2 separate regions of the Homo sapiens genome follow, and region 2 is linked to region 1. The links are contacts of gene promoters, found by promoter capture Hi-C in blood cells and fetal thymus (Javierre and others, 2016). All regions are on one chromosome and are shown on one strand. Each heading gives the region's core, a stretch centred on a gene start or on the middle of the fragment in contact. The rest is flanking DNA. Distances are from core to core; before and after follow the strand shown. Region 1 holds the start of OR7E24 (olfactory receptor family 7 subfamily E member 24). Region 2 holds the start of LOC105372270 (a long non-coding RNA gene).

Evidence for each region. The method cuts DNA at HindIII sites, captures the fragments that hold promoters and counts their contacts. A CHiCAGO score of 5 or more calls a contact.
Region 2: a contact is called between a fragment that was not itself captured here and the fragment with the promoter of OR7E24 in region 1, in 3 of 17 cell types (total CD4 T cells, non-activated CD4 T cells and total B cells). The highest score is 5.9, in total CD4 T cells.

What each region holds. Positions count from the first base shown.
Region 1 is chr19:9,249,004-9,252,857 of GRCh38, reverse strand. It overlaps OR7E24 (olfactory receptor family 7 subfamily E member 24), which reads right to left and starts at 1,928. Exons shown (of 1, transcript NM_001079935.2): 1 at 233-1,928. The coding sequence starts at 1,814. The coding sequence ends at 795. The HindIII fragment of the contact is 19,830 bases long and covers 1-3,854 here.
Region 2 is chr19:9,708,372-9,712,343 of GRCh38, reverse strand. LOC105372270 (a long non-coding RNA gene) reads right to left here and starts at 2,684. Exons shown (of 2, transcript NR_187774.1): 1 at 2,352-2,684. The HindIII fragment of the contact is 1,954 bases long and covers 1,636-3,589 here.

The DNA of each region.
Region 1 (3,854 bases), core at 679-3,178:
AGATATTTGAATGAATCACGTTGCCTGGTGCTACATTCTTTTGTAACTTACCCATTGTAGCTCCGTCCCTTTAGAAACATCATCACCTGAACTATTTCTGGTGCTTTTAAAATTCCTCAACCCACACAGGTCCAAGTAAATTTTGGTAATGACACCCAGGCCTCAGTATTTGTGAGGTCCCCAGGTGATTTCAATAAAACCAAATGTGAGGACCATTGATAGACATCATCATACGTAAGCTGCCTAAAGTGATTTCCTAGATGCGATTTGGACAGAAATTACACAGGAACTGTAGAAAGGGAGGTAAATACGAAGTACGATAAGTCCTCACTTAACATCCTCCACAGAAAATTAGAAACCACAATTCAAGCAAAACGATGAACCATGAAACCAATTTATTCATTTCTCACCAAAATTAAAACTAAACAACATTGAACAAAATGAACTTATTTCAGGACCTGCTGCGCTTTTTTTTTAAAGTTGCAGTTTCCAAAAACCTCTTGACAAAGTTAAGTGAGGATTTCAAGTCTATCAGAAAAGATTGTGATTGCACCTGGATATCAAGGTCATTGCACAGATACTAAAGGAGGCTGTCTAGGTATATTGGAATCATTCATGATGTGTATGATGAACAAAGGATACCAGAATACTCACCCATTGCAATTAAAGACAAAACAAAGCAAGCAATATTCACATACGAAACCCAGAGAGGAATGAAAGCCATCAAGCAACCAAAATAATGTGACCAAGGAGGCAGAATTTGCAGGCCTAGGTGTTAAATTTTGCTGCCATTTCTATCCCATATAACAAAAAGGATGGAGATGATGAGATTTGATGATTCTGCCATGCAGCCTGCACAGGGCACTTTGAATGTCCTTGTTCCTCAGGCTGTAGATGAAGGGGTTCAGCATGGGGGTGACCACAGTGTACATCACTGAAGCCACCATACTCTTCCTGGGGGATGGTAACACAGCTGAACTGAGGTACCCTACAAGCCCTGTTCCATAAAATAAGCAAACAACTGCCAGGTGAGAGCCACAGGTGGAGAAGGCTTTATACTTCCCATCTGATGTTGGAACTCTCAGAATGGGGGAAACAATTTTATAGTAAGAGAAAAGGATCCCTGAGATAGGGAGACAGCCAAATATGGCACCCATGAAATATATGACCATTTCATTGATGAAGGTGTCGGAACACCTAAGGTGGAGGAGTTGAGAAGGGTCACAGAAGAAATTAGAAATGTCCACATCCTTGAAGCAGGTGAGCTGTAACATAATCAAATTGTGCAACTGGGAGTCCAAAAGACTAATAAAAAAAGACAACAAGATTAAGAAGCCACAGAGGCGTGGGTTCATGATGATTCGGTAGTGCAGGGGGTGACAGATGGCCACAAACCGGTCATAGGCCATCACACTCAGGAGCATGTCATCCATACATGCAAAAAGGACAAAAAAAGACATCTGAGTCAGGCAGCCTTCATAGGAGATGACTCTGCTGTGAGTTTGCATGTCCACAATCATCTTGGGGACCGTGGTGGAGGTGAAACCGATGTCAGCCAAGGACAGGTTGGAGAGGAAGAAGTACATGGGGGTGTGGAGGTGGGAGTCAGAGCTGACAGCCAGGATGATGAGCAGGTTCCCCAGCACCGTGACCAGGTACATGGACAGGAACAGCCCAGCGAGGACCGGCTGCAGTTCTGGATCCTCTGAGAGTCCCAGGAGGAGGAATTCTGAGACACCTGTGAGATTCTGTGGCTCTGTGTAGCTCGGACACCTTTTGAGGAAAAAAAAAAAGAGAATTGGAAAATAGGACATAAGTAAACCAGCATCTAGCACTGTGTCTATATTTTGGATACAAGCAATTAAGAAATTAAGTTTTCACATAGGATTATACACCCTCAGCAATAGTTCTCAGTTGTGACAAACCCAATTTCCTTAGAGTTACTTCATAATTGATTTTGTGTTATTCACCTCTTTCTGTATACACTTAACTTAGAGACAGTCTATTGAAGAATGTTAGGAGAGCAAAAACATTAGAGATTTTAGAAATCCATGATCACGGTAAAATATAGCCTAATTTATCAGGAAAAAATATACAACAAAAATATTCTTGCCCCTTTAAGAAAAAGATTAAATCCATTGAAAGGATACTAAGAAGGAGTCAGCTATGTCTTGTTTTATTCTAATACAATTCTACAAATTCCATTGATTGAGGATATTTATCAACACTCAATGAGATCTAGGATCATGTTGTCTCAAAACTCAATGAAAGTTCATAGTTCATAGCCAGAAAACATCTTTACATACCAGTTATATTCTACGGTTTCCATCATTCTTACGTTTTCTGACTTTCATTCTTCATGGAAGTAAGTACTCACTCAAATATGTGGGCTTTCTTTTAAAATTCACTTAATTATAATTCCTGTCCTTGCCTTAGGTGGACTTGGAGTTTTGATAAGAAAGTAGCCCAGGGTGGTGGCTCACACCTGGAATCCTAGCACTTTGGGAGGCCAAGGCAGGAGGATTGCTTGAGGATGTGAGTTTAAGACCGGCCTGGAAAACACAGCAAAACCCCATCTTTACAAAAAACTAAAAAATTAGACAGGCATGGTGGCGCCGCCCTGTAGTCCCAGCTACTCAGGAGGCTGAGTCAGGAGAATCGCTTGAGCCCTGGAGTTCGAGGCTGCACTGAACCATGATCATACCACCGCACTCTAGGCAGAGTGGCAGAGTGAGACCTTGACTATTAAATCAATAAGTAATTAAAAGGAAGGTTTAGTTAAATGCACATAATTACCAGGACATCACTGATAGCAAAGATGTTGATAGTGTGCAACGTACCTGTGGATGACAGAACATTAATATAATGTTAAAATGCTTTTAATTTTTTTTTTTAAGACCTGAGTCTCGAAGTTTTGAGCCTGTCACCAGGCTGGAATGCAGTGGCATGATCTCAGCTCACTGCAGCCTCCGCCTCCTGGGTTCAAGCGATTCTTATGCCTCAGCTTCCCGAGTAGCTGGGACTACAGGCGCACGCCCCACCATGCACAGCTGATTTTTGTATTTTTAGTAGAGATGGAGTTTCACCATGTTGGCCAGGCTGGTCTCAAACTTCTGACCTCAAGTAATCTGCCCACCTCTGCCTTTCAAAGTGCTGGGATTACAGGTGTGAGCCACTGTGCCTGGCCAAGGTAATGTTAAAATACTTTGGCATTACTTTCGTTGTGGCTGGAATCATGTGAAACTCTAAAATGTATCTTGATCTAAACAATAAGGTTTACCTGCCCCCACTTCCTTCTGCATCCTTTTCTCTTTTTTTATGCCTGTAAAAATCTCTGCCATGGTCTTTAAGTAATTGAATGTTGTAGATGCTATTATTATGTGTCCATAATATAGACACAAAAAAGTGCTATTTTACCTTCTGCCTAGTTTGTGACACATTCCTGGAAGGAATGAAAGTACAGATAGGAAAGCAGTGAGTGTGTTGAAGTCACACTGATCACAGCCAGTTTTGTGAACTAAGGAAGGGTCTATTCAATATGTAACAGAGATTCTAATTTTTGGTGTCTCCTCTGTACCAAGCAAGATACAGGCTCTGGGAAATCAGAGTTGAAAGAAACTCAAATATTCCTCTCACAATCCTCAGTACTTACTTATATAAGGGCAAAAATTAAATGTCCTGTCAGAGACATTGGGAACCATAGCTAGGTTCCTGGATATTTCAGTTCAATGGTATGGAGATTAACCTTGGAATATTAATAGAAAACATGTAGAATACACTTCACTTTATGCATCCATCACATAGGGATCACACAGGAGCACACACGGTCTGTTTAATCATTGCTCACTGCAGTG
Region 2 (3,972 bases), core at 1,363-3,862, 460 kb before region 1:
GTATCTAAAAGGACACTCTACAGACTTGTTTTTGGATATTGCAAAATTAAAAGAACAGATTTTAAAACATCCCAGGCACACCTGACCTTAATGCCAGGAACTGGGGTGCTTAAAGGAGCTGCAGACAAATTAGCAGCTAGTAACCCATTAAAATGGATAAAAACACTTGGAAGCTCTGTAATTTCAATGATGATTGTGCTTTTAATCCATGTTATTTATCTTTGTATAGTCTTCAGATGCAGATCCTGACTCCTATGAGAAGTAGCTCACCATGACAAAGCTCCTTTGCTTTTATCAATCTGCAAATCAAAGAAGGGGGACATGTTGGGAGCAGGCCTCCCAAAATCTGGCCATAAACTGGCTCCAAAACTGGCTATAAACAAAATCTCTGCAGCACAGTAACATGTTCATAATGGCCCCAATGCCCGCTCTGGAAGGTTGGGGGTTTACCGGAATGAGGGCAAGGAATACCTGACCCGCCCAGGGTGGAAAACTGCTTAAAGGCATTCTTAAGCCACAAACAATATCATGAGTGATCTGTGCCTTAAGGACATGCTTCTGCTGCAGTTAACTAGCCCAACCTATTCCTTTAATTTGGCCCATCCCTTCATTTCCCATAAGGGATACTTTTAGTTAATTTAACATCTATAGAAACAATGCTAATGACTGGTTTGCTGTTAATAAATACGTGGGTAAATCTCTGTTTGGGGCTCTCAGCTCTGAAGGCTGTGAGACCCCTGATTTCCCACTTCACACCTCTATATTTCTGTGTGTGTGTCTTCAATTCTTCTAGCGCTACTGGGTTAGGGTCTCCCTGACCGATCTGGTCTCAGCATTCTCTCCCTCACACTCAGTCTCTTCCTCTTTCTCACTTGGGACATTGTCTTTTAAAGTGACCTATTTTTTCACATTTGAAACAATTTTTCTGTCTTTTTTTTTTCTTCCTTTGAGTCTCCTGGCTTTACTCTTTCATACATTTTATATCACCTGGACAGTGGTGGTCTAGGTTCTTTATATGTCTGGCTCCCTTGGTACTTTGTTGTATGGTGGACAGCAAGATTTTTGCCTTTTGCTTTTGTTTTTCTTTTTCTCTTCTTACATATACTGTTTGGGATTTTTTTTTTTTTGAGACAGAGTTTCACTCGTTGCCTGGGCTGGAGTGCAGTGGTGTGATCTCAGCTCCTGCAACTTCTGCCTCCTGGGTTCAAGTGATTCTCCTGCCTCAGCCTCCCAAGTAGTTGGGATTACAAGCAAGTGCCACCATGCCTGGGTAATTTTGTAACTTTAGTAGAGATGGGGTTTCTCCATTTTGGTTAGGCTGGTCTTGAACTCCTGACCTCGGGTGATCTGCCTGCCTTGGCCTCCCAAAGTGCTGAGATTTCAGGCATGAGCCACTGCACTGGTGTTTTTTTGGGCTTTTTAAAGAAACTCTTCTATAGGTCTGTATTTCTGGTTCTCTATTTTTTGTAATATTTTGTTAATATCTGGCCAACGATTAGTAACAAAATGAAGCTTTAACATCCCTCATCTGAGGGGGTCTTCTATTCTAGATTTGCATATTTCTCCATTTGCTCTTTGAGTTTTTTTCAGAATTTTATAGGTCATTTATTTTTTTCTTGTTGTGTATTGAAAGCTTTTGTAATGTTTTGGATACAGGGTACAGATTCTCTAATTCTTTTAATTATCATTTCTCTAAGGTCTTTTCATTATTCTTCTAATATTTTAACATTAGGCCTAGGGGACTATCAGGGGAATATTATTGTTGCTAGCTTTATCCTTTTTCTTACCTTGTTTGGGGTATTTCCCATCTTGATGGTTTTAGGGTGAGGCTCAATCTCCCCTACTGGAGATTTCTTGCCTTTTGGGGTAAGTCTCAATTTCCCCTACTGGAAATTTCTTGCAATATGGGGTGAGGCTCAATTTCCCCTAATGGAAATTTTTTGCCTTCCTTGCTACTGGAGGTTCCTGTGAGGCTCAATCCCCCCTACTGGGAATTTTTTGCCTCTTCTTTCACTTCATCCTTCTCTAGCCATGTTAGGTCCCTCTTGGCATTGGTGGGTTGGTATAAACCCCCATCCTGGACTCCTTTACAGGTGGGTCACCCTAAGCCATATGAGGTGACCACAGAACTGCAGATCTAGACTTAACACTCATTTCACATGCAATTGTGCATCTTATTCATACACTATTAACTTCCAAGATACCCCTTCCAAGGAATACTTCACCACCCCCGCAGTTTTTCATGCCTTGGTGTGTCCTCACCAAGGAATATTTCACTGCCCCTGTGGCTTTTCTTAGCTTGGTCATGACCACCTAGGAAATACTTTGCCAGCTCCTGCAGCATTTCTTACCTTGGTCTGTGGACAGAGTTATCTGGTCACCACGGTATTTGTAGGTCTTTTCTTCCCATGTTGCTGAGAGTCCGGGTTTATTCATCACACTAGGGGGGTCTCCATTCCTTACCCCTGAGGCTACTGCAATGAGGCAGTGGGGCATGTGTCCTCACAGGAGAGGATGGAAAACCCTCTGGGAGGAGAATGGGGTCCTTGTACAGGCCACCAAATTGTTAGAAACATACTATTTGTGCTGCAAAAGAAATAGCAGTCGAACATAAATTTTCTCAGAAAGTCAAATTTACTTCTACAGAAGCATGTGTCTCGTGGATGGAGCAATGGCAAGAGCTCATCAGACAAAAGACAGCAGGGGTTTTTAATCCCTAATGCACTTGGCCTTAGTTGATGTGTCATTCCCCTATTGGTTGGGGTTGAACCACACAGTCTAAACTGAATGCAGTTAGCTAATTTGAAGAGTACAGGGAAGAACAGTTGTGGCAGGGAAGGCTGTTACAGCAGGGAGGGGGTGACTTCTTGGTGGGCATGCCTGAGCACAGCAGGATGGGAGGGGCTGATAGACTGGTGGGCAAGGTTAATTTAAGCAACAGGGAAATAAGACTTCAGGACAGACAGTACAAGGAAGTAAAGACCTCTTGCAGAGGAACACTTTGTAACAAAATGAAACCCTTTGAAGAGGAACTATCTAAACTACTTGTTTTTAACATTTATATTCGCATGTTTCTGGAGGCTGAAAATCTGAGATCAGAGTGCCAGCATGGCCCACTTCTGGTGAGAGCTCTCTTCCTGGCATGTAAATGCCTAATTCCTCATGTCTTCACATGATGGAGACCAAGAAACGGGTCGTGCTCTCACTCTCGCTCTCCCTCCCCACAGCCCCTTGTGTCCCTCGACCTCATTTAATGATACTCCCTAAAGATCCTATTTTGACATACACTCACATTGGGGTTTGGGGCTTCAACAAATGAATTTTGGGGTCATTGTTCAGTCCAAAGTACTTAATATGACTCTTTTCCCTTTCCACATAGGCAGTGAGATAATCTGTAAGTAATGACTTATTTTTCCCTTTCAGTCATTAGGTTATATAAATATATATTTTCTTGCTTTACTGAATGGATTTTAACCTCCAGCACAACACCAACTAAAAGTAGTAATGTCAGCATAGTTGTCTTTGCAGTTGTGGTGAGATATGTGCTCTATTTTATTGGCTTGGCTGTAGGTTTTTATTTTTTGAAGCTTCTATCTCCTACAGGAATATATATAATCCCAGCACTTTGGAAGGCCGAGATGGGCAAATCACAAGGTCAGGAGTTCAAGACCAGCCTGGCCAACATGGTGAAACCCCATCTCTACTAAAAATACAAAAAATTATCTGGGCTTAGTGGTGGCCACCTGTAATCCCAGCTACTTGGGAGGCTGAGGCAGGAGAATCGCTTGCACCCGAGAGGCGGAAGTTGCAGCGAGCTGAGATCATGCCACTGCACTCCAGCCCTGGTGATGTAGCAGGACAAGCCACAGACAAAACTCCGCAGACACGGAGCTAAAGAAGGAAGAGGTTTATTCAGCCGGGAGCATCGGCAGGACTCCTGTCTCAAGAGCCGAGCTCCCCGAGTGAGCAATT